4 separate regions of the Homo sapiens genome follow, and all the other regions are linked to region 2. Evidence: promoter capture Hi-C in 16 types of primary human blood cells and fetal thymus (Javierre and others, 2016). All regions are on one chromosome and are shown on one strand. Each heading gives the region's core, a stretch centred on a gene start or on the middle of the fragment in contact. The rest is flanking DNA. Distances are from core to core; before and after follow the strand shown. Region 1 overlaps EFHC2 (EF-hand domain containing 2). Region 2 holds the start of NDP-AS1 (NDP antisense RNA 1). Region 3 overlaps EFHC2 (EF-hand domain containing 2). Region 4 has its middle 28 kb from the start of EFHC2.

Evidence for each region. Contacts are between HindIII fragments. The CHiCAGO score rates a contact against its expected background, and 5 or more counts as called.
Region 1: a contact is called between a fragment that was not itself captured here and the fragment with the promoter of NDP-AS1 in region 2, in 2 of 17 cell types (M2 macrophages and naive CD4 T cells). The highest score is 6.4, in M2 macrophages.
Region 3: a contact is called between a fragment that was not itself captured here and the fragment with the promoter of NDP-AS1 in region 2, in 4 of 17 cell types (total CD8 T cells, M2 macrophages, total CD4 T cells and 1 more). The highest score is 6.0, in total CD8 T cells.
Region 4: a fragment that was not itself captured here is called in contact with the fragment with the promoter of NDP-AS1 in region 2 in 2 of 17 cell types (non-activated CD4 T cells and total B cells); the score reaches 7.9 in non-activated CD4 T cells.

Annotation. Positions count from the first base shown.
Region 1 is chrX:44,220,631-44,226,087 of GRCh38, forward strand. The region is part of intron 11 of EFHC2 (EF-hand domain containing 2); the gene reads right to left. Among named protein-coding and RNA genes, the nearest start is that of EFHC2, 120 kb to the right of the region's middle. The HindIII fragment of the contact is 1,019 bases long and covers 2,547-3,565 here.
Region 2 is chrX:43,947,545-43,952,724 of GRCh38, forward strand. NDP-AS1 (NDP antisense RNA 1) reads left to right here and starts at 2,188. Exons shown (of 6, transcript NR_046631.1): 1 at 2,188-2,536. It overlaps NDP (norrin cystine knot growth factor NDP), which reads right to left. Exons shown (of 3, transcript NM_000266.4): 3 at 1,232-2,482. The coding sequence ends at 2,255. RefSeq lists enhancers at 1,865-2,382, 2,383-2,899. The HindIII fragment of the contact is 3,781 bases long and covers 1-2,703 here.
Region 3 is chrX:44,295,436-44,300,965 of GRCh38, forward strand. All of the region lies in intron 2 of EFHC2 (EF-hand domain containing 2), which reads right to left. Among named protein-coding and RNA genes, the nearest start is that of EFHC2, 45 kb to the right of the region's middle. The HindIII fragment of the contact is 6,252 bases long and covers 844-5,530 here.
Region 4 is chrX:44,368,526-44,373,954 of GRCh38, forward strand. No RefSeq gene overlaps it. Among named protein-coding and RNA genes, the nearest start is that of EFHC2, 28 kb to the left of the region's middle. The HindIII fragment of the contact is 2,235 bases long and covers 1,325-3,559 here.

The sequences.
Region 1 (5,457 bases), core at 1,806-4,305, 270 kb after region 2:
CATTTTTTCTGTTATGCCTATGTGGTCTACCTCTTTCTAATGGCTAAAAAATATTGTCTGAAATTAATGCAATAGAATATATCCAACTATTTCCCTATTGTTGGGCATTTTATTTTTCTAAATGTTTACTATTACAAAATTTGCTGCAATAAATATTGTGCATGCACATACACATATATTTATCAATCCACCTGTCCAAATTTTTTTCAAATAAAAAATTTCTACAAGTGCAACTACCAGGTAAGAGTCTAAACATTAGACACATTCTGCCGATTGCCCTCCAAAATGCTGAACCAATTTAAACTCCTATCAGTGGAAAATGAGAGTACCTGTTACCACACATGTTCACCTGGAGTCAGTTATATTATTCTTTTTAAATGTTGCCAATATAGTAAGTGGAAATAATATTTCATCATTGTTTCAGTTTGTGTCATTATTGGGCATCTTTTCATAGGTTTAAAGACTATTTGTATTTCTTCTGTGAACTATTCCTGCCTTTGATCCATTTTTGTGTGTTGATTTTATAGGAGTTCTTAAGTACTTAATGTTAATCCCCTGGCTCTTACACTGGTTATAAATATTTTCTCTTAGTCTGTCCCTTGTCTTTTAAGTTTGTGATAGCTTTTGCCATAGAGAGAGATAAAATTCTTCTGTAGTCAATATAATCTTTCCTTTATGGCTTTTGGAAACTGTGCTCCACCACAAAATAAGCGTATAAAGGCATTTTCTAGTTGACTGTCACCAAATCTTTATTAATAATCCATTCTTTCTCTACTGATTTGAAATGTTCTCCATACTTATACGAAAGTTCATAAAAATAGCTCTTCTATAGACTCTACACTGTATTTCACTGATATTTTTGTTTCTCTGCTAGAAAATGTTTTCAAATGTATGTAAATCATATACCTTTCTAGTATCTACATTTTAATATTCTTTTCAACATTTTCTTGGATATTCTCAACCCCTTATTCTTCTTGATGAACCTTCATAATCAATCAGTCAATTTATCTCCCTTAACCCTGTTAAACAAAACCAAATCTAACAACAGCAAGAGCAAAAACCTGCTGTGCAATTCTGATTGGAATTGCTTCAAATCTATAAATTTGGAAAATTAGAATTTTCACAATATTGTCTTCCCATTCAGAGATATCAAGTTTAAAAATTGCATTCATTTTAGTCTCACGCTTCTTGTCCAATTTATTCCCAGATATTTCATTTTTGTTGCTACAGCAAATAGTATTCCCCTTTTCAGAACACTTCTTAACTAGTTATTGCTGATATAAAGTAAAGCTATTGTTCTATATATAGCTTTCTTATATTTAGCTACTTTCCTGAATACTCTTAATAGTTCCAACCATTTTAAAATTGATTCCTTTGGATTTTCCAAGTATACAATCATATTTGGATTCTAATTTTAAAAAATTAGTCTTCAGTTCTATTTTGAACTATTTATACAGTGATTCCTAAATGCCTATTTCCACAATACCTAGAGTAACAAAATAATGGAATTTTATGTCTGGGAGGTGCCTTATATGATCTAATCCAAGAATTACCTAGTCTAGTACCTACTGGGGTAGGTATGTAAGATAAATAGGAGAAAGTGCCTTAGCGTGAGACAATAAGGACTTGTAGAAACTGAGAAGAAATGCAGAGAACAGGCTCTATCTAAGGAGGGCAAGTGCCATTCACCCCCAAAAGATTGTTGCCATAGAGAAATGTGGGTCCAATTTCTATTTTCCAAGAGGCACCAGATATATATATTCTTAGGTTTAAACTCCCAATTTTAAAAACATTAAACAAAAGCCATACAAAATATAACTGCCAGCTTTCAACCTATAAACCTGTTTTTAATCCAATACCTTCATTTAAGGCAATGGAAACTCAGAAAAGTTCATCAGAGATTGCAAAAGTAGCCAAGCGTAGGGGAGGGCTTTGCCTCTTGTTTAGCTGCTTGGCGAGTCAAAACAATATTTTCAAAGTACTAAAACTAGGTAGGTGCTTTGTCCCTGTTGTCAACATATATTCGTGTTCCCTGTTTGGCTCATGTTGGTTTGGATTTACTATCCCTGCAATATTCATGGCAAATGAAAAGGGTATCTTTTATTTATTCAATTTCCCCCCAGCTTTATTAAAGTATAATTGACAAATAAAATTGTATATATTTACAGCACATAATGTAATGTTTTGATACAGGTATACATTTAGAAGTAATTAACTCAAGCTAACTCACATATCTATCACCTCACATGCTTATTTTTTTGTGGTGAGAACATTTAAGAGCTACTCTCTTAGCAATCCAAGTATATAATACATCATTATTCACTATAGTCACCATGATGTACAATAGATCTCCAGATCTCCAGAACTTATTCATCCTGTCTAACTGAAACTTTCTACAAAGGCTATCTTTTAAATAGCCTTTCTATATTTGGGGAAATTCCCACGTAAGTTTCCTACCACCCCAACATAGAGGTCAGAGCTCAATTTCCCAGACTTCCTTGCAGTTAGAAATATGCAGGTGACCCAGGCTCTCTACCAATCAGGGAAGCTTACTTAAGACTGTGCCTCAGAAGGGATTAACAGAAGAAAAGCAGCTCAGGGTGGGCCACGTTTGGTGTCAAAGGAGCCCAGCCTTCAGGGGTGGTAAAGGACGATTGCCAGAAATAGTGGTAGTTATGGCTGTGGTAAAATCAAGTTCTTGGCAGCAATGCAAGTGCAGCAATGAGTCATGGGTGGTGGTAACAGAGGTCATTTTCTCATCAGACAAGTTCTACAGCCCTGTTTTGGGCACTGTTCCTATAGTTCAGCCTTGAGCTTGTTTCTCCAGCCCTTCCAAAGACACTGTGAACCACCCAGGCTCCTTTTAATAAATTCCTTTTTTTTTTGCTTAACTAGCCAGAGAGGATATTCCTTTTTAAAACTAAGCCCTCACCAATACAAACACCACCACCAGACAGTGACAGAATCAAATCAAAGATCTCCATCTTTTTGATTCCCAGGCTAGCATTCTTTCTACAACATCACATTATTTATATTTAATGCTTTTAGGAAAGTTCAAAATGCTGTTTTCAAAAACATATATGGAAATTTCCATTTTGAAGACAGGCTATGAATACTGTCCAAGAATCTATTTAGTTCATGATAAGAACCTATGTTTGAGTGCTTTGGGATTTTATTTGTCTTTGTTTTTGCTTTTGTTCATATAGATTCATAGACTAGTGGCTTCCTTAAAAGATGCTAGATTGCTTACAATAAAAAACACCAATAGCAATGTACACAGAGTAGTCCAAATAAAAATAGGGCAAAACCATATAAAAGGAGAGATAATTGTCCTAGATAAATCAGGATGAGATCATTACCATGTTCTAAGCACTAAATTTACAATTTGCTTCCGTGAAGTAAAGGACAGCAATAGGGTAGATTATATTAATGTTTCCCAGCCTTGGTCCACCAACAATGATGTTTATTATTTTCCATCTTCAAGGCCTACAAGTTTTTAGAGTTTCTCTTTCAACCTCATTTATTAAAGAATGTTTTGAATGACCCCCACCATGAGTAAATATAAAGCTTATTGAAATACTGGAAACAAGATGTACCTTCCTATTACTGTTGTTGGTGACACCAGTTCACAACTATTGGGATAAAGCATTTTCACTTTCTGAGTATCCACCATGCACTAGTCAGCTACAATAAGAATTTTAATATCAGTATCAAATGTATTCATCACAACAGCTGTGTCCTATGTATTACTATCCCCATTTTACAGATGAAAAAATTATTCAGCAGCTTCCCCAAGGCCACTAAGCTGGTAAACAAGAGAGCCAAGAGCTAGATCTGGGTTTGCCAACTCCAAAACCAGTGATAAGAACTATTTCTATTATATTACCTCTTTTAGGAAGAATTTTAGTTTTACAAGGGAGAAAATCTCCTTGAGGTTCTAAATCTTAGAAGGAATTTATTACATGGATGTTCACAGGAGAGCTACTGACTCTGCAACTGATAACGGGGACCTGAAGAAAAAATCTGTAATAATTCACTATGTTCATTGAGGTCTGATACACTGGGTTCTGGAGGCATCTGGGAAAGACACAAGAGTGAACCAGGCATGGGCCCTGCCCTCTGAGAGCTTCCCCAGGTGGAGAGAAGAGACAAGCACTCAGCTAACCAAAATACACACAGGCTACATGGGGCCAGGTGTCATCTCTGATGGGTAGATCAAGGCTCAGGGAGGTGGCCAGAGAGATGGACTGACCACATCTTCCTTGGCATTGGGCTCTCAGTGCTGCTGCTGCTGCTGCTGCTGCCTGTGGTTCAGAGTCCAGGGCCCTCACTGGGAAGCCCCACCCTGCCTATGTTCCCAACTGCATGAAATACTAGCCCTGCCAAGCTTAGTCCCTGCCCTGCTCCCTGCTGAAATCTGCCCACCACTGCCACCAGGTATCTATCCTAAGGCTCTAAGAAAGGTTATCTGCACTCTCTTGGATAACGATCAGCAGCTCTCACAGGCGAATCTGATAGACCATGCCAAAAAGATTCTAAAGAGGATCAATGAAACAGAAGCAGAAGTGGTGAATTCCCACAAGGCAAAAGAGAAATGTTCCCTACCCAAATAAAAAAATTAAAAAAAAAAAAAACAAAAACCATTCCCTACTTCTGTTTCCTGATGGCTGCCTGTCCCTGCATTCCATCAGGTCTATTCTGAGGCAAATATCTCCGAGAGGCCCACACATTAATCCATTATTGACCATGGCACCTTATACAGAGGTAGTTTATCAGCTCCTACCCTCAAAGTTTTTCTGAGAGGAGATGCACATCTCTGAGAAAAAGGGCAATGCTGGGGGCTTGGACCACTGCCCAGAGCAGCAGGTCTGGGCCCCGAAGCCCCAGGTGTATGCTGAGAGTGCCAGGTATCTAAGCAGAAGAGAGTCAGGGCCACAGAGGCCAAGCCCATAGGCCTATGCTGCAGTCCTGCCTTTGCTTGCCTCTGCTCTTCTCTACTATCTCAATGTACAAATTTGAAAAGAGAACATTTTACAAGAATATTATAAACTTACATTTTCAGAGTTTCCAGTTGTCAGAGCCTAGAAGGGACCTCAGAGACCAATATATGAACAAATGAGTGAGATACAGGTAGGTGAAGTGAGTTGCCCAAGTTACTTGGCTAGTGAGGATCAGGCCTAGCTTCTCCTTACTTCCCTAAGTAAGAGCCAGATGGCCCTTCCCTGGTGCAAGGAAATCAATTATTTACTTGATTGCTGCAAGCTTTAGACTGAACGTTCCTTGAGAAATAGGATCGTTCATTAAATTATTCAGCAAACATCTATTGCACTTGGCAGGAGCTGATGTGGAGGCAGGGAAGCAAACAAGTAACAACTTGACAGGAGGCTACCAGTGAAGAGTAGGTATAAAGCATTTAGCACGATGCTTAGCCCCCAGTAAGTGCTCAATACATGGTGG
Region 2 (5,180 bases), core at 938-3,437:
TGTGATTCTTTAATGCTCCAAGTATATTCTGCTCATTTCCATGGGGGAAACTTTGTCAATAGACCATGTAATGGGATTTGAAGGGACTATTTTCTATGGCTTCCAGAGAATTTGGAAGATATGAGTCATATAACTGCCCCCTGTAGTCCCAAATTGGTAGAAGGAAATAAAGACTAGAGTTTAGGGTATAGATTATAGATTCTCAAAGAAAATTGAGTTTTTAAGGCCCAGAAAATACTTTTTAAGGCTGGAAGTATTATTTTTCACTTTTTGATTAGCAACATGAAAGAACAGTCATAAATGTGACCAACAGTTAATACTTTCATTATCAGTTAAAAATTATAACCATTTAACTTTCAGTATTAAATTTAATTCCATTTATGACAAAATTCTTCATGTAATGGTCCAAACTGCCATTTCGCATTTGCCTTCAGAATGAGGAGAACCTCCAATTTAGGAGACTGGCTGGCTGTGTCACCACAGAGATTAAGATCAAGGTCAAGATTTAATAGCATTAGTTTCATTCTGTTTCAAAGCCATGAATACAAGTATAACCCTGCTGGCTTTCTTAAGAATGTGTGAAAGCTGTGCCAAAGAGTGTTCAAAACCATTATCTCTACTGGAAAAGTAATTCACAGGTTGGCTGTACTAACAGTGGGGGAGTTAATATCATCTCTAGTTAACCAGGACAAGGTTGCCCTGGAAACTGAATTGCCAAGTCTGGATTTGTATTGAGATACCTAAGAGGGACATAGCACTGTGCTAACATCATGAGTATTCTTGTAATGCCCAGTAATATCATTCGATCCTGAGCACTGCACAGTCAATGGCACAGAAATGTTGTTAACTATTTGTCCTTCTGCTGGTTCTTCCAACTTCACTTATGGATATTTATTTTCTTCTGAGAAAAGTGAAGAAATTAAAAAGGAGGGGACTCCTCTGTTTCATTCCATAGCTTCCAAGGAAGCCAAAATGCATTAGATTTTGTGTTTATTCAATGGGCTAAAATCTAAAACTCAGAGTCAAATTTAATAAGCCCTCAACACCTTGTTACATTGATTTCAAAAAAATGTTCCCACAATGCATTCTGGAACCCCATTTCTGTCTCCTTTTTTTTTTTTTTGACTCTTTTACTATATCATAGGAGATGCTCAAGCACTAGCTACATGTATGTTCTAGTCCACATGATAGTAGGATATCAAGTAGGAAAAAAATACTTAAACAGTCAAAATTTTGAATATACTCTTTTTATTTCAAAACGTGGGAATAACTCAAAATTTGAGCCTCCAGGACCAAAACACATTTGAACCAAACGTTCAGAAGACAAGCCAGGCCACCATTTTGGCAACATGTTTCACATGGACAAGTGGATATTAGAGAATGATGCCCGTGACACGGCTAAAGCTATAGCACACCCACAAATAGATTCATACTTGGTTGTCTAATTTGCATGCATGAGTATGGTGCATTCTCCATGCCACTAGTACATATATGCCTTTTCCAGAGTCAGTGCAGGATCCGTATTTGTGCAAGTCTTTAAAAGTCTGCTCCCTTACAAAATTTTACCATAATTTATCTGAGACAGCCTTCCTGTGACAAATTCTTTATGCTGCTTTTACTTTCAAAAAGTCATTTCTGAATAATAATTATAGCTGTCAAGAGTTCCAGCATCACATAAAAGAATCTGTTTGTTAGTTATTTTAATGTCAGTTCGCTGGCTGTGAGTAAACGTAGCTAAACATATCCACATGCTTGGTATCTGGACTTTGAAATCGGTAACCTTTAGCAGCAATGGCAACCTTAGACCAAAATGACAAGGTAAAAAAAAACATCAACAATAACAGAAGATGTCCCAGGAAAAGCTGGGCTTTTCTACTTTCCAAAGTAAATTCTTCCCCAGCGTGCACCAAACACTGACAGCCTGACACGCTTGTGTATGAGGGCCCACTTTTTCCCACTAATGCTGAATTGTTGGAAACCCAAACAGCATTGAGAGCCAAGGGGGAAAATGCCTGAATCTGAAAATGAACCAAAAGAAATTGTACCAGAGAAAGGAGATGGGAACTGCAAAGAAGTTCCCAGAGTATCTCTCTCTGTCAACAAGCATGTAGAGTCTTTATTACTAGAATATGCAGAGTCCCGGGAGAATTGTTGCATCCTTTTTTGCCTTAACTCTTTTCTTGCCAGTCTTTCCCTGGCTGGTCGAACTGCCTCTACAGTTGTCCCATCCAGAAGCCACACACAGCAGCGGGCCTCAGGAATTGCATTCCTCGCAGTGACAGGAGAGGATGTACCGGTAGGTGGCAGTGAGTCGCATGCCCCCTGAGCATCGCAGCCGCAGTGCCTTCAGCTTGGAAGTCTGGGGCCGGCAGCAGTGACAGGAGGAACGGAAGGGTTGCTTGAGGACAGTGCTGAACGACACCAAAGGCTCGGAGCGTGACGCCTGGCTGCAGTGCCCCTCGCACCTGGCCAGGAGCACCATCTGGGGAAAGAAAAGGAGGTGGTTACTCTGTGGGCATGCCACAACCTTAGCCAGGTAAAACAGCATCTTTTGAAAGACCCTCACACTCGTTGCCAATTCCTGCTAGATTAGACCAGTGGCTCAATGCATGTTGCATTTTTTTTAAGTCAACACCCAGGCCTCATTCAGATCGATTGAATTAAAATCCTTGGAGATAGGGACCAGGCTTTCATGGTTTTCAAAGCTTCTTAGGTGATTTCTAAGTGTACTGAGGGTTTAGAACCACTGAATGACGCCCATCACTGTGATGTGCGAGTAAAAACCAAAGAACAAAAGAAATTTCTCCTGACAGGTAGTGGTCTACCACTGGCCCAATGCATTGCAATTCTACCAGTAGCAAAATGCAGAAAGTCAATCCAAATTGAAACCAAGAAGTAAATTAAAATGACTACCAAAAAAAAAAAAAAAAAAAAGAAATTGATTTGTGCAGGAAATAGCTAAAGAACAGGAATATAGTTTCTGAATAAGAAAATAGGATAGCCTGAGTAATGCTTAGGAAGAAATATTCTGGGTGCTGCAATTTGGGACAAGAGAATGAAGTAGAGACAGGGCATGTCTGGGGCCCTGAAATCACACTTCTGGGTTTATATGTTGAAGGAGCCTGGGATTTATGTAATTGCATCCGCATCTTCAGAGTCATTTGCGGCAAATATTAGGATGTACCCATTCTGATAATCTCTATTTCCAAAGATTGGGCTGGAATAACGGAGGCTATGTGTTCTTTATAGTAGCTCTTAATCTGGCTTTAGCAAACAGACACCTTTAAGAATCTGATGAAAACTACCAAAGTTATCCCCAGAAAAATGTACATAAGCACACACACAATTTGCATACAGCTTAACGGAATGGAAAAAAGGATCATTTATGTATCCCATACAAAACTCCTGGTATCCTGGGAGTGGGAGTAATAGGTGGGTAGGGTGGGACAGCTTGACTCATTAAGCTGCATAATCCTAATATCAAGGTGGGGAGGGGAATGGAGAATCTGAGATTATTGGTCCCATGGTTATGTAAGAGGTTTTGCTTGGTGAATTTCATGTTAAGTGATGGAGAAAAAAATCCCCTGGGCCAGGTGTATTGTCTCATGCCTATAATCCCAACACTTTGGAGTCTGAGGCAGGAGGATCACTTGACCCCAGGAGTTTGAGACCAGCCTGGGCAACATAGCATGACCGTGTCTCTAAAAAAAAAAATAAAAAGTTAACCAGGCGTGGTGATGTGCACCTGTAGTCCCAGCTACTTTGGCAGCTGAGGCAGGAGGATCACTTGAACCCAGGAATTAGAGGCTGCAGGAAGCTATGATCAAGCCACTGTACTCCAGCATGAGTGACAGAGCAAGGCCCTGTCTCAAAAAGAAAAGAAAAGAAAAGAAAAATTTGTCCTATAATTCCAGAACCAACAGCAAGATCATAAAAAGTGAAACTGTTCAAATGAAAGATTAAAAGATACATATATATGCATGAAACCTTTTGACGTTTACCTTACAATATTGTAGGAATTCGCAGTTATTATTAAAGACTCACCAGCTATTATCTCTGACATCATCCTGTAGGGCAGAATTAAACACCCAAGGTTTACAAGAAAAAAATAGCCAGTCCATCTTTCCAAAAGGGAGAAAAGATGAATTCTGGTAATTATAGATTATTGGCATAGTTATCTGAGAATATACTGGGGCTAAATCCAACAATCACTTAGCAACCACCAAGGCAATATGAAATACTAGAAAAAAAAAACAGCAGGGCTTAGGGAAGAATAAGTTGGACTAGACCAGTGAATTTATTTTCTCTGAATGATCGCAGAGGCAGAGAGAAAATAGCAGCTGTAAGCTGTTTTGATTTTTTTAAAGCTTTTGATTCTATCCTACCTGCTCTTCATTTTGACAGGCAAAGTAAACTATCAGAAATGATTGTTTGTTTGTTTTGTTTTGTTTTTAGAGACAGAGTCTTGCTATGTTGTCCAGGCTGCAGTGCAGTGGTTATTCACAGGCATGATCATAGCACACTACAGCCTTAAACTCCTGAGCTCAAGGGATCCTCCTGCCTCAGCCTCCTGTGTAGCCAGGACTACAGGCATGTACCACTGTGCCTGGCTCTGAAATGGGTTTTGAGAGACTATGCCATAGGTCAGTAGTACACAGGCTAGTCCCTAATTCCCACCCCCATTTCTCTAATGAGAGAGAGAGTCCAAGATCTTCCTTAGTCTGTTCTCCCCCCATCTCCCTGTATGTGGGAAGAGCTGCTTGATACCTCACCTTGGAGTAGTGTTAAATTTGCTAATCTCTCATCTAGATCATCTATTAGGTTGACTAAGCAGTTATTCACAGAGTCACCTTCCGTGATGGAGTCTTCAGAGGTGCAGTTTCAGTCTGGGTGGACAAAGTAAATCTGTGCCAACGAACTTAACTCAGAAGGGCCAACAATGATATGGGACATAATATCCAAGTGATGTATACACAGGTGAACCAAACGTAGGCCTAACTGACTGGGCCATTAGCACTGTCCATAAAATGACCAAGTCAACAGCGTAGGGCCATTTGTAAATGAGCTCATCTGATTGCAATCTCACTAAAAGTTTTCAGGATGTCCAGCTCCACCCCCAGCCCACTCTGAAGGACAAGAACTCCAGGCACTGAAGGACGTGGGGCCACCTCCAATGGGCT
Region 3 (5,530 bases), core at 2,720-5,219, 350 kb after region 2:
TGGCTAAGGGTTGAGTGGTGATGGGGGAGCAAAGGAGATGAGACTACAAAGGTACAAGAGCCAAAATATAGGTGGTCCCTAAGCCATGCAAAGGAGGTCAAAGGAGTCTAAACATTTTAGAAAGTTAACTCTGTAGCAGAGTGGGCAGTTGAGAAAGGGAATTATATTGAAGGCAGGGATGCCTTCAACGGAGGCTACTCTCCAGGTGAAAGATGAACTAGGATGGCAGCAGTGGCCATGGAAAGAAGCAGACTGATGAAAGGGAGATTTCAGAGGGAGACGAGAGGACTTAGGTCAACTGATCAGTGTTGGGAGAGGGGTGGGTAATGGCAGTTCTCTTATTTGTGTAAGCATACACAAAAATATATCATTTAGTAAGTTAACATTTAGAAGTAACTCAAATAATAAGCCAGTGTGGCTTAGTCTCAGCATGGTAGTATATTCAAAGAAAAGGCCCAGCAACTAATAGCAATTGAAAATCCTGTTTCATCTTCACTTAGACCTCCAAGGAAAATCTAAAGGTGATCCAATTTATGCTGCACATCCACACTTCTCCCCCAAAAAAGCCTTTTCTCTCTTTTTCGATTCTCACGAGTTTCACATTTCATCACCATCAGTGCTCTCCCACTCATACTCTCTCTCCCTCCTATCCACTTCTTCCTTTCCTATATCCCACAAAGCATAAGAACAACTGAAAAAGTCAGAAGAATCCTTAGAGGATGGAGGTGGAGAAAAGTGGAGTGAGCAAAGACAAATTTTTGTTTAGCAGGCAGGGTATGTGGAAAAGGAGAAAGCTGGGAACACACAATAATATTATCTCCATTACCTACCCATAAGAACCAAAGCTTCAATTCATAAAGCTGACTGTAAAAGCCAAGTAGACCAGAACTGAAAATAGTTTTAATATGTAAAACTATTAAAATATGATATTTTTGATATGTAAATATAAATGCAAAAATAAATGCTTTGAAATTCTGAATGAAAAATATCAACAAGTAGAATCAAAGAGAAATAATAAAATGCATGCAAAACATATTTCATATTTTAAGCCAAAAAAAGGGGGGAACATGGTAGACTGCAAAGGAAGTACAATTTCAACTAAACATAAAAGGACCTGCATGAAATTTCTAGAACCTAGAGGATCATGGTATAAAATCTATGAGTACAGTTATGAATAATAGGCATGTAAATACAGTTGTAGCAGCCTATTACTGACTGCTATTAGTTCAGAATAATGAAAAAATAAAATAATTTAAAAGGTAGTTATTTATCACCTTTCCTCCTAAAAGACCATTAAGTAAATTTGCTAAAATAGAAGAGACATGACAAAATCTTTTGTTTAAACAATATATGATTTTATGAACTACCCTAATTTCAACATAAATGGTGCCCAGAACAATTGGAAAGAGCAATACAATGATAGCTTAATAGCTGCTTTTTAGAACTCACTGGGCTCAGTGGTAGCATCTCCAAATTTATTCTTCTGGAAAATCCCAGAATTTTTCCCAAAGAAAAATGCAAGAATCCTGTAGCACAAATGAGCATTGGGATAGTCCCAGCTTATGCTTCACTTCCCCTAGGAAAACTGCTCTCCCCACCCCATGTAAGGAAATAATTCTTCGTGACTACTATGACCTGGGCATTTGACATGCATTACCCATTTGATACTCACGGCAACTCTAAGGTGGGTTTTGTTATTCCCACTTGACAGATGAGGGAATTCAGGCTAAGAGAGGTTAAAAACATGGCCAGGATGAAATAGGTAATAGATGGTAAATCCAGGTTCTAAACCTCAGTCTAACTGAAAAGCCTTGTTCTTTCTACTATACCAAAGAGCCTCTCATTAAGGAGGTATTGCAGGCAGGCCATGTTTCCAAAGAACACCCTAGACACTGCACACAGAGTTAATTTCAGACAACACTCCATTTGGAGAGACATATATACCCTGGGTCCAGCCCTAGGGGAAAGGGGAAGGGGAAAGGCCCTAGTAATAATAATATCAATGATGGGCTGGGCACAGTGGCTCACACCTGTAATCCTAGCACTTTGGGAGGCTGAGGCAGGCAGATCACGAAGTCAGGAGTTCCAGACCAGCCTGACCAACATGGTGAAACCCCATCTATACTAAAAAAAATATATAAAAATTAGCTGGGTGTGGTGGCGTGCACCTGTAATCCCAGCTACCCAGGAGGCTAAGGCAGAAGAATCATTTGAAACCGAGAGGTGGAGGTTGCAGTGAGCTGAGATTGCACCACTGCACTCCAGCCTGGGCGACAGAGCGAGACTCCATCTCAAAAAAAAAAAAAAAAAACCGATGATGATGATGATGACAACAATGATGATACTCTCCTAAGAAGAGAAGTCAGCAACTGCAAGGCCAGAAACAGGCGAAGACAAAGTAAGGAAAGGAAGAAAGTTAAATAGGGCACTCACAATAGAAGATGAATAAAAATGGATGAAAGTAAAGAGAATGAGGATGAAGAGACAGAAGTCCAATAAAAGAGAAAAGAAAACAGAAAAAAGGTAAAAAAATAAAAATAAAAATAAAATTAAAAAAAAAAAACACCAGAAGGGAAGGGACAAGAAGGTTGAGAGAGATGGAATAAAAGAAAAGGAAATGGGACAACATTGAAAAAAGAATGGAGATAAGCATTTCTTCATATCTTTGAATAATGTGGTGTTATTAACATCTTAAAGTATTTTAAAACCTCTGAAGGAGGTTAGAAGAGTAATTTGAAAAAACTGAAGCAGAATGTTTTAAAGTAAAGGGATATCAAACCAGAGGACTAAAAAGGACTGTAAAATGCCCAGAAATCTGTTATAGTATATTATTACATGAATTTGCTACACTTTGTTTATATACACATTGTCAAAGCTGCGCCTCAAATCTTAAATCTCAAACAGTAAGCTAGATTCCAGGGCAGATGCACCATAAGATTCCGTTTATCTGAAATCTGAGAAAAAAATGAAAGACTAAGCTATGGTGATAGAAGTCAGAACAATGGGAAAGGGCTAAACGAATTGGGGGAATAAGGGAACCTCCTGAGGCAACAGAGACGTCTAGACGGTGTCTGGGGTGGTGGTTACACAGATGCATACATTTGTCACAACTAATGGAATTGTATACTTAAAATAGGCTCATTTTGGCCAGGTGTGGTGGCTCATGCCTGTAATGCCAGCGCTTTGGGAGGCTGAGGCAGGCAGATCACGAGGTCAGCAGCTCGAGACCAGCCTGGCCAACATGGTGAAACCCCGTCTCTACTAAAAATACAAAAATTAGCCAGGCGTGCTGGCGGGCGTTTGTAATCCCAGCTACTTGGGAGGCTGAGGCAGGAGAATTGCATGAACCCAGGAGGTAGAGGTTGCAGTGAGCAGAGACCGCGCCATTGCACTCCAGCCTGGGCAACAGAGTGAGACTCTGTCTCAAAAAAAAAAAAAAAAAAAAAAAAAGGCTCATTTTATTACATATAAATTATACCTCAATAAAGTTGATTTTAAGAATTAAAATGAAGTTTACCTCAATAAATGAGGACTCAAACAGCAAAATCCTAAAGAACACAGTTATTCTGTATCCTGAACATGGTGGTGGTTACATGAATCTATATATGGGATAAGATTCCACAGGACTGTTAAACTAAGGGGGAAAAAGTGAGTGCATGTAAAAACTGGTGAAATCCAAATAAAGTTTGCGGTTTAGTTAATAGTATTATACTGTAAACCAAAAATAAAATTCTAAGCCCCCCAGCCATCTGAACAGATCCCTCCTCTAGGCCAAGGACATTCCCAAGTTAGCCTGAAAAACTAGTTTCAGGCCATGATGGGAAGGGGGAACCAGACATTCCTTATTATACCCTCCTCCCTTTTGGAATTCAGGAAAAGTTGACCAGCATTATCGTCAACACAGACCTTAAGTCTGATAAGAAACATTTACAATCTATTCTGTCTGAAGCCTGCTTCCTGGAGGCTGCATCTGCATGATAAAACGTTGGTCTCCACAAGCCCTTATCATAACCCAGACATTCCTTTATATTGATAATAACTCCTTCAACCAATTGCCAATCAGAAAATCTTTGAATCTGCCTGTGACTTGGAAGCCTCTCCCCGGCTTTGTGTTGGCCCGCCTTTCCAGATCAAACCAATGTACATCTTACATATATTGATTGATGTATTATGTCTCACTAAAAATGTATGAAAGCAAGCTGTACCCCGACCACCTTGGGCACATGTCGTCAGGACCTCCTCAGGCTGTCACAGGCACATCCTTAACCTTGGCAAAATAAACTTTCTAAATTGATTGAGACCTGTCTCAGATACTTTGGGGTTCACAATGCCAATGCTGATTTCCTGCATTTTTGTTCTTGTTTTACCATGTTGCAGAAGGTAAAATCCTGGTTTTGATAAGGTATATCAAACTGTTATATAAGATGTTATCATCGGGGAAAGCTGTGAAAAGGGTATTCAGGAACTCTCTGTACTATTTTTGTGACTTTTTGTGAGTCCAAAATTACTTTAAAAAAAATTTTTTTAAGAATACAGCTAGATTATATGGTCTATGGCATTTGTGCTATCACCCACCATCAGCGTTACAAAAAGTGAGTTTACCATAGGGCAGAGTCCTGCAAATACAAAATAAAGGAAGGTAAATAATTTTTTTTTTAATATTTCAAATAAACTTGCAGCTGGTTTGAACTCGGGGGGGAAGAATACATAAATAACCATGACTTTTATAGATTAAAAGTTCAGAACAAAATATAAATCAGCCTAAAATTTAAGTCAACAAGTCAAATAGTGACTATCAGTTTCTTCCTAATTTGTGAACTAAAATCTTATAAATGACAAGGATTTTATGTTCAAAATAACTATAATTAGTGTGCACAGAGGATGAGGCAGCAAGAGGGTAGTCATCTGTAAGACAAGAAGAGAGGCCTCAGGAGAAACCAACCCTGCCAGCACCTTGACCTTGGACTTCCAGCCTCCAGAACTGTGAGAAAAAAAATTTCTGTTTAAGCCACCCAGTCTGTAGTATTTTGTTATGGTGAAATCGTCTTTACAAAAATCATAATTGAGAAAATTATTACAGTGAAAGAGATCTGACCTAACCAACTCCATCTTGCTTCTAACCTCCAAGCTGTCCTTGTTCATTCTGAGGCATAGGTCAAACTAACTTCAGGAGGAACTTAGTGTATAGTTAAACTTTGAAACAAAAACATACTAGCCCTTTCCCAAAACAACCCCTTCCTGCCTAGGGACTAGACTGCCTTTGCAGAAGTAACGAATTAGCCACAAGATTAGTGATTATGGTTTAGGAGTCATATAGCTGGAGGCTGCAAGATTCTAAACCTCCCCAAATTGCTCCTGGGGATGAATAAGATCACTATTATAAAACCTAACATCACCAGGTACAGTGGCTCACACCTGTAACACCAGCACTTTGGGAGGTCAAGGCGGGCAGATCATGAGGTCAGGAGATCGAGACCATCCTGGCCAGCACAGTGAAACCCCATCTACACTAAAAATACACAAAATTAGC
Region 4 (5,429 bases), core at 1,192-3,691, 420 kb after region 2:
CTTTCGCCATGTTACCCAGGCTGGTCTCAAACTCCTGGGCTCAAGAAATCCTTTCACCTTGGCCTCTCAGAATGCCGGGATTACAGGCGTGAGCCACTGTGCCCAGCCAAGAAAAAATATTTTTATAAACTTAGTGTGGTCTAAGTGGACAGTGTATATAAAGTGTACAGTTGTGTACAGTAATGTCCTAGGCCTTCACATTCACTCACCACTCGCTCACTCACCAGGAGCAACTTCTGGCCCTGCAAGCTCCGTTCACGGTAAGTGTCCTTTACAAGTGTATCTTTTTTTATCTTTTATACCATATTTTTACTATGTATTTTCTATGTTTAGAAATACAAATACTTACCATTGTGTGACAGTTGTCTACAGTATTCAGTAGAGTCACATGCTGCACAGGTTTGTAGCCTAGGAGCAATAAGCTATACAATATAGCCTAGGTGTGTAGTAGGCGATACCATCTAGGTTTGTGTTAGGACACTCTATGATGTCCGCACCCTATCACCCTAATGATGCATTTCTCACAACCTATCCCTGTTGTTAAGCAACACATGACTGTATAAAGATGCTTAATTGACTTGGACTGGCTTAAGTTGGGAAATAAATCTCCCATTACCCATAGGCCTGCCCTCGTGCAGGTCAAGGTTAGAATATTTATTTTCACCTGCTGCAACCTCTCTGACAAAGGTTACAAATGAACCCCTGATTGTCAAACCCAATGGACATTTTACTGTCTTTTTTTTTTAAGACAGTGTCTCACTCTGTCACCCAGGCTGGAGTACAGTGTCACGATATTGGCTCACTGCAACCTCCACCTCCCAGGTTCAAGCGATCCTCCTGCCTCAGCCTCCCAAGTAGCTGGGATTACAGGTGCATGCCACCACTCCTGGCTAAATTTTGTATTTTTAGTAGAGACAGTGTTTCACCTTGTAGGCCAGGCTGTTCTTGAACTCCTGACCTCAAGCGGTCCACCTGCCTAGGCCTCCCAAAATGCTGGGATTACAGGCATGAGCCACTGTGCCTGGCCCAGACATTTACTGTCTTTACCTTCTAGATTGTCCTGAAGCAGTTGACACTGGGGTCCACTAGTTCCTCCTAGAAAGTCCCTAGTGCCCCAGCTTCAATAGCATTGCACTCTCTGGGGCCTCTTTTCATGACCCCTGAATGTTATTTCTGTGTCTCCTTCACGCTCCTCTCTCAATCTCCCTGATTCTCATCCTCAGTCTATAACTTCTTAACATGCTCTCTGATTGATACGACTTGACCTCATGCACTTAACCATAAGTGCTTCCTAATCTATGCCCTAGCCCAGAAATGTCCCCTAAGCTTTAGAATCAATAGGGCTCAAAACATGCTACCCCAAAGTATGGCACCTTGGCATATTGAATATTTTAAGCTGAAAGAATTTGAGAAACAGCAGGTACAGAAAGGACTCTCTGACCTTCCCCTGAAGCAGGTCTGAAGACCCTCATGTGAGAGGTGCCCTCCCTAGACCTAGAAGAAAGAGGCATCCTTATCTCCGAAGATGGGACACCAAGAAGAATCCAAATGAACAGGCCTTGCTAAATTTCCCCCGGTTAACTATCCTTAGCTTATACCGCTTTATCTTATCACACTTTTTCATGACTCTTCACTCTTTATCACACCAGTATAAAGATGCTCAGGTTTAATGATTTCTTTGCTCTTCATTTCCTTCTGAAGACTCTCATGTCATATAAAACTTATATTTAGTTAATATGTATGCTTTTCTCTTGTTAATCTGTCTTTTGTCAACCTAATTTATTGAGCCCCAAACAGAGAACCTAGGAGGGTAGAAGAAAAAAAATATTTTTTCCTCCCCTACAGAATACCCCATCCAAATTCCTGCTGCATGGGCCCGCTTGGGTGGTCCATTGGCCCCTGTAATCCAAAAAGTCCAAAACAGTGCTCATTACACTTTCCCCTGAAATTTATCTCCTGTCTTTCATCTCAGCAAAAGACACACAACCAGAAACCTGAGGATGAACCTATGGCTCTCCTCTCACCCTCCACAGCAATCAAACACCAAGCCCTGGTAATTCCACCCACTAAAATATGCTTCAAACCCACCACTCATTTCTCTACTCCTGCTTTCATTGCTTTAATTCAATCTAAGAATCGTAGCAAAAGACCTCCCAAGCGGTCTCAGCTTCTAGTCTTGCCTGCCTCGCATCCATACCTGGTACCACCTGAATGATTTACCTAAATTGCAAATCTGACCACGTCACTTTCTTTTTCACAACCCTTCCATGGTGCCTCATTTCCTGCTAAGCTCCCTAGCATGGCATGGCTGGCTTGGAGTAGCGAAGAAGCCCTTCTTGAGCTGGCCTTTGGACACCTCTCTAGTATCTTTCCATACTGACTATACCCAGCACTGTACCTATACTGACTGTATCTATCCACAAAATGTATAGAAATGAACTGGGCGCCTGTAGTCCCAGCTACTCAGGAGGCTGTGGTGAGAAGATCGCTTGGGTGGCAGAGCAAGACCTTGTCTCAAAAAGCACGTTATTCACCAGTAATCCTAGCGAGGCTTGCAGTGAGCCATATAAACCACGTCGTTTCTTATCTCTAACCCTTCGCTCATGCTGGAACCTCTGCCTTTCCTGCCCCCAGCCTCCTGGTCAATTACTATTTGTCCTCCTTGTCATGCCAGGGCTCTCTCTTCTAAGAGACCTCCTCCTCTGTTCCCATTGTCCCCTGTGCATACTGCCAGCATACATGTTTTGTCCATGAATATGTTTTTCTCTCCAGCTGAGCTAAAAAGTCCTTGAGGGAATAGACCCCATCCTGTTCAACGTTGCATCTTAGCATATAGTAGAAACTCAATAGGCTTTTGTTGTCTGAATTGAATCTGAAACACAGAGAGTAAAATTTTTTAAATCAAGTAATGACATAATTGATTTTATAAAAATGAGAAATGCTCTTTATTTTTAAAAACTCAAGAAATACATCAAAGTACAAATCCCCCAGAGTCTCATCAGGTGGAATTAGCCAATGTCAACAGATCCAATGATGGATATAGAGAATATAACACATCCAGACACCCCGAAGTAATTTCATAAGAATACAGTTGGACTAGACATGCTATGTCTAACAAAACATATGAAATTTAATAATAGTTTAATTTAACTTGAGAAAAAAACCTGAAGTGAATCTGCAGGAATTTTCTGAACCATCCATGAAGTGTTCCTTCACCACAAGCAATATTAGCAAGTTTTAAAAGTGATTCAAACTCCCAGGCAAATGATCTGCACTTGGCAGAGTAGTTAACAACTTCAATTATTGTGTAACTTTGGGATTGGCTAGGGAGTTCCCAGGAGGATGGAAAAGTTTTACCTAGAGACAAAATGTATTGAGTCAAGCAATAGGGAGTTCAAAAACAATTATTATTAAGAGTCTCACTGTTTTTTTAACTTCACGAAATTGGTTTTCATTACTTTCACTCTTGGTTCAATAAAAAGGCTTTTAAATTGGATGTTTTTTTAGAATTTAATAAGCTCCTTTAAAGTGATGCAAATATTTCTTAAATCCTGAAATAAGCTTTCCACTGCATTCAGATGTGCCCAACTGAAAAGTTAATTCCAATCAATGGCATTTAACAGATGTACCTAATTGAAGGATTACTTAGTGGGCACTTTACAGCATGCAATCTAAGAGAACCACCACCCCCGCTTTTCAGGAACTTACAATCTGGTAGAAATGTGTTCATTCCTCCCTTAAATATTTTTCACAAAAGATGACAGTGTGCCTGGTATTATGCAATGCGTGATGGTTGTGATGTCTATGTCTTACCTAAAGTAAGTGGAGGGTTAAGAGGTTACTTTGAATTGATACAGTCATGGAACTCAAACAACTTATCTGTTAAGCCTCCATCATTATGCCTTCCTCCTTTATCCCCTTCAGAAGAGTTAGCTGATCTGCTTGCTCTCTTCCCTTGCCACCATGTGCATGTGTGGATTATAGCATGCTCTATATTACCCATCTCTCTTCCCTGTGGGACTATGGATATCTGGAGGGCAAGGCTAAGCCTTGGACATGTTTGCACTGATAACCTAGAGCAGTGTCTGACATTAAATATTTGATGAAAGAAAGAAAAGAAAAGAAAGAAAGAAAGAGAAAAGAAAAGAAAACAAGAAAGAAGGAAAGGAAAGGAAGGAAGGAAAGAAGGGTGGATAGATGAATGGATGGATGGATGACTTAATGAATGGGGTTGGCATTAGAGAATGGCCTTAAAGAGTGAGTGGACTTCCAATATGTGGACATGGTGAAAAGAACATTCCAGATAAAAGGAAAAACATAAGGAAAAGCCCAAGACTCATTCAAGAATTGACAGGAGGCCGGGCATGGTGGCTCATGCCAGTAATCCCAGCACTTTGGGAGTCCAAGGAGGGTGGATCTCCTGAGGTCGGGAGTTCGAGACCAGCCTGGCCAACATGGTGAAACCCCATCTCTACTAAAAATCCAAAAAATTAACTGGGCTTGGTGGTGCACTCCTGCAGTCTCAGCTACTTGGTGGTGTGTGCCTGTAGTCCCAGCTACTTGGTAGTGTGCACCTATAGTCCCAGCTACTGAGGTGGGAGAATCGCTTGAGCCCAGGAGGCGGAGGTTGCAGTGAGCTGAGGTTGCACCACTGCCCTCCAGCCTGGGCAACAGAGTGAGACTCTGTCTCAAAAACAAAAACAAAACAAAACATAAAAAGAATTGACAGGTAGAACAGTTGGGTTGGAGTTGGGGATAGGATAAGGCTGAGAATGTGATGATTTGACACCAAACTGAGAAGTGGCTTATAAGTGAGGCTAAGGAGTGAGGCTATTATTTATCAGCCAGTAGAGATCTACTCTATAGAATGGTAAAGGAAGGTAAAATGAGGCAGGTGGACAGGTTGGGAGATTATTACAAACATATGAGAACAGATGAGAAATAACAAGGGAGATTTGAAGTGAATATGGAAGACAAATTATATACATGAATGTTCAAAACTAAACAACAGATTGGATTTGGAAAATGAAAGAGAAAGACCCGAAGATAACTCAGATTTGGTGTCTGATGAAAGCATGAACAGTAGCATTAATAACAGAGACAGGAAAGTCATAAGGGAAACAAGTGTGAGATCAGTGTTGCCAAGAATTTTTCAATTGCCTGGTCTCACAACTTCAGAGTAAATGGCGGCTTCTGTTTTAAATAAACTGATTTTGAGATCGAGATTCCTTTCAGGAATTCACAAGAAACCAGCCAATCCTCAGGTCTTCCAGACTCAGCATTCTACTACAAATGGTTTCCAGACTGAACCAAAGGGTCCTGCTTCATAGATGCTGCCTAGAAAGAGTGATGGAGTGGTTAAGAGCCTGGACTCTGAAACCAGATTGTCTGAGTTTCAATCCCAGCCTCTATCCTCATGAGTAATGTGG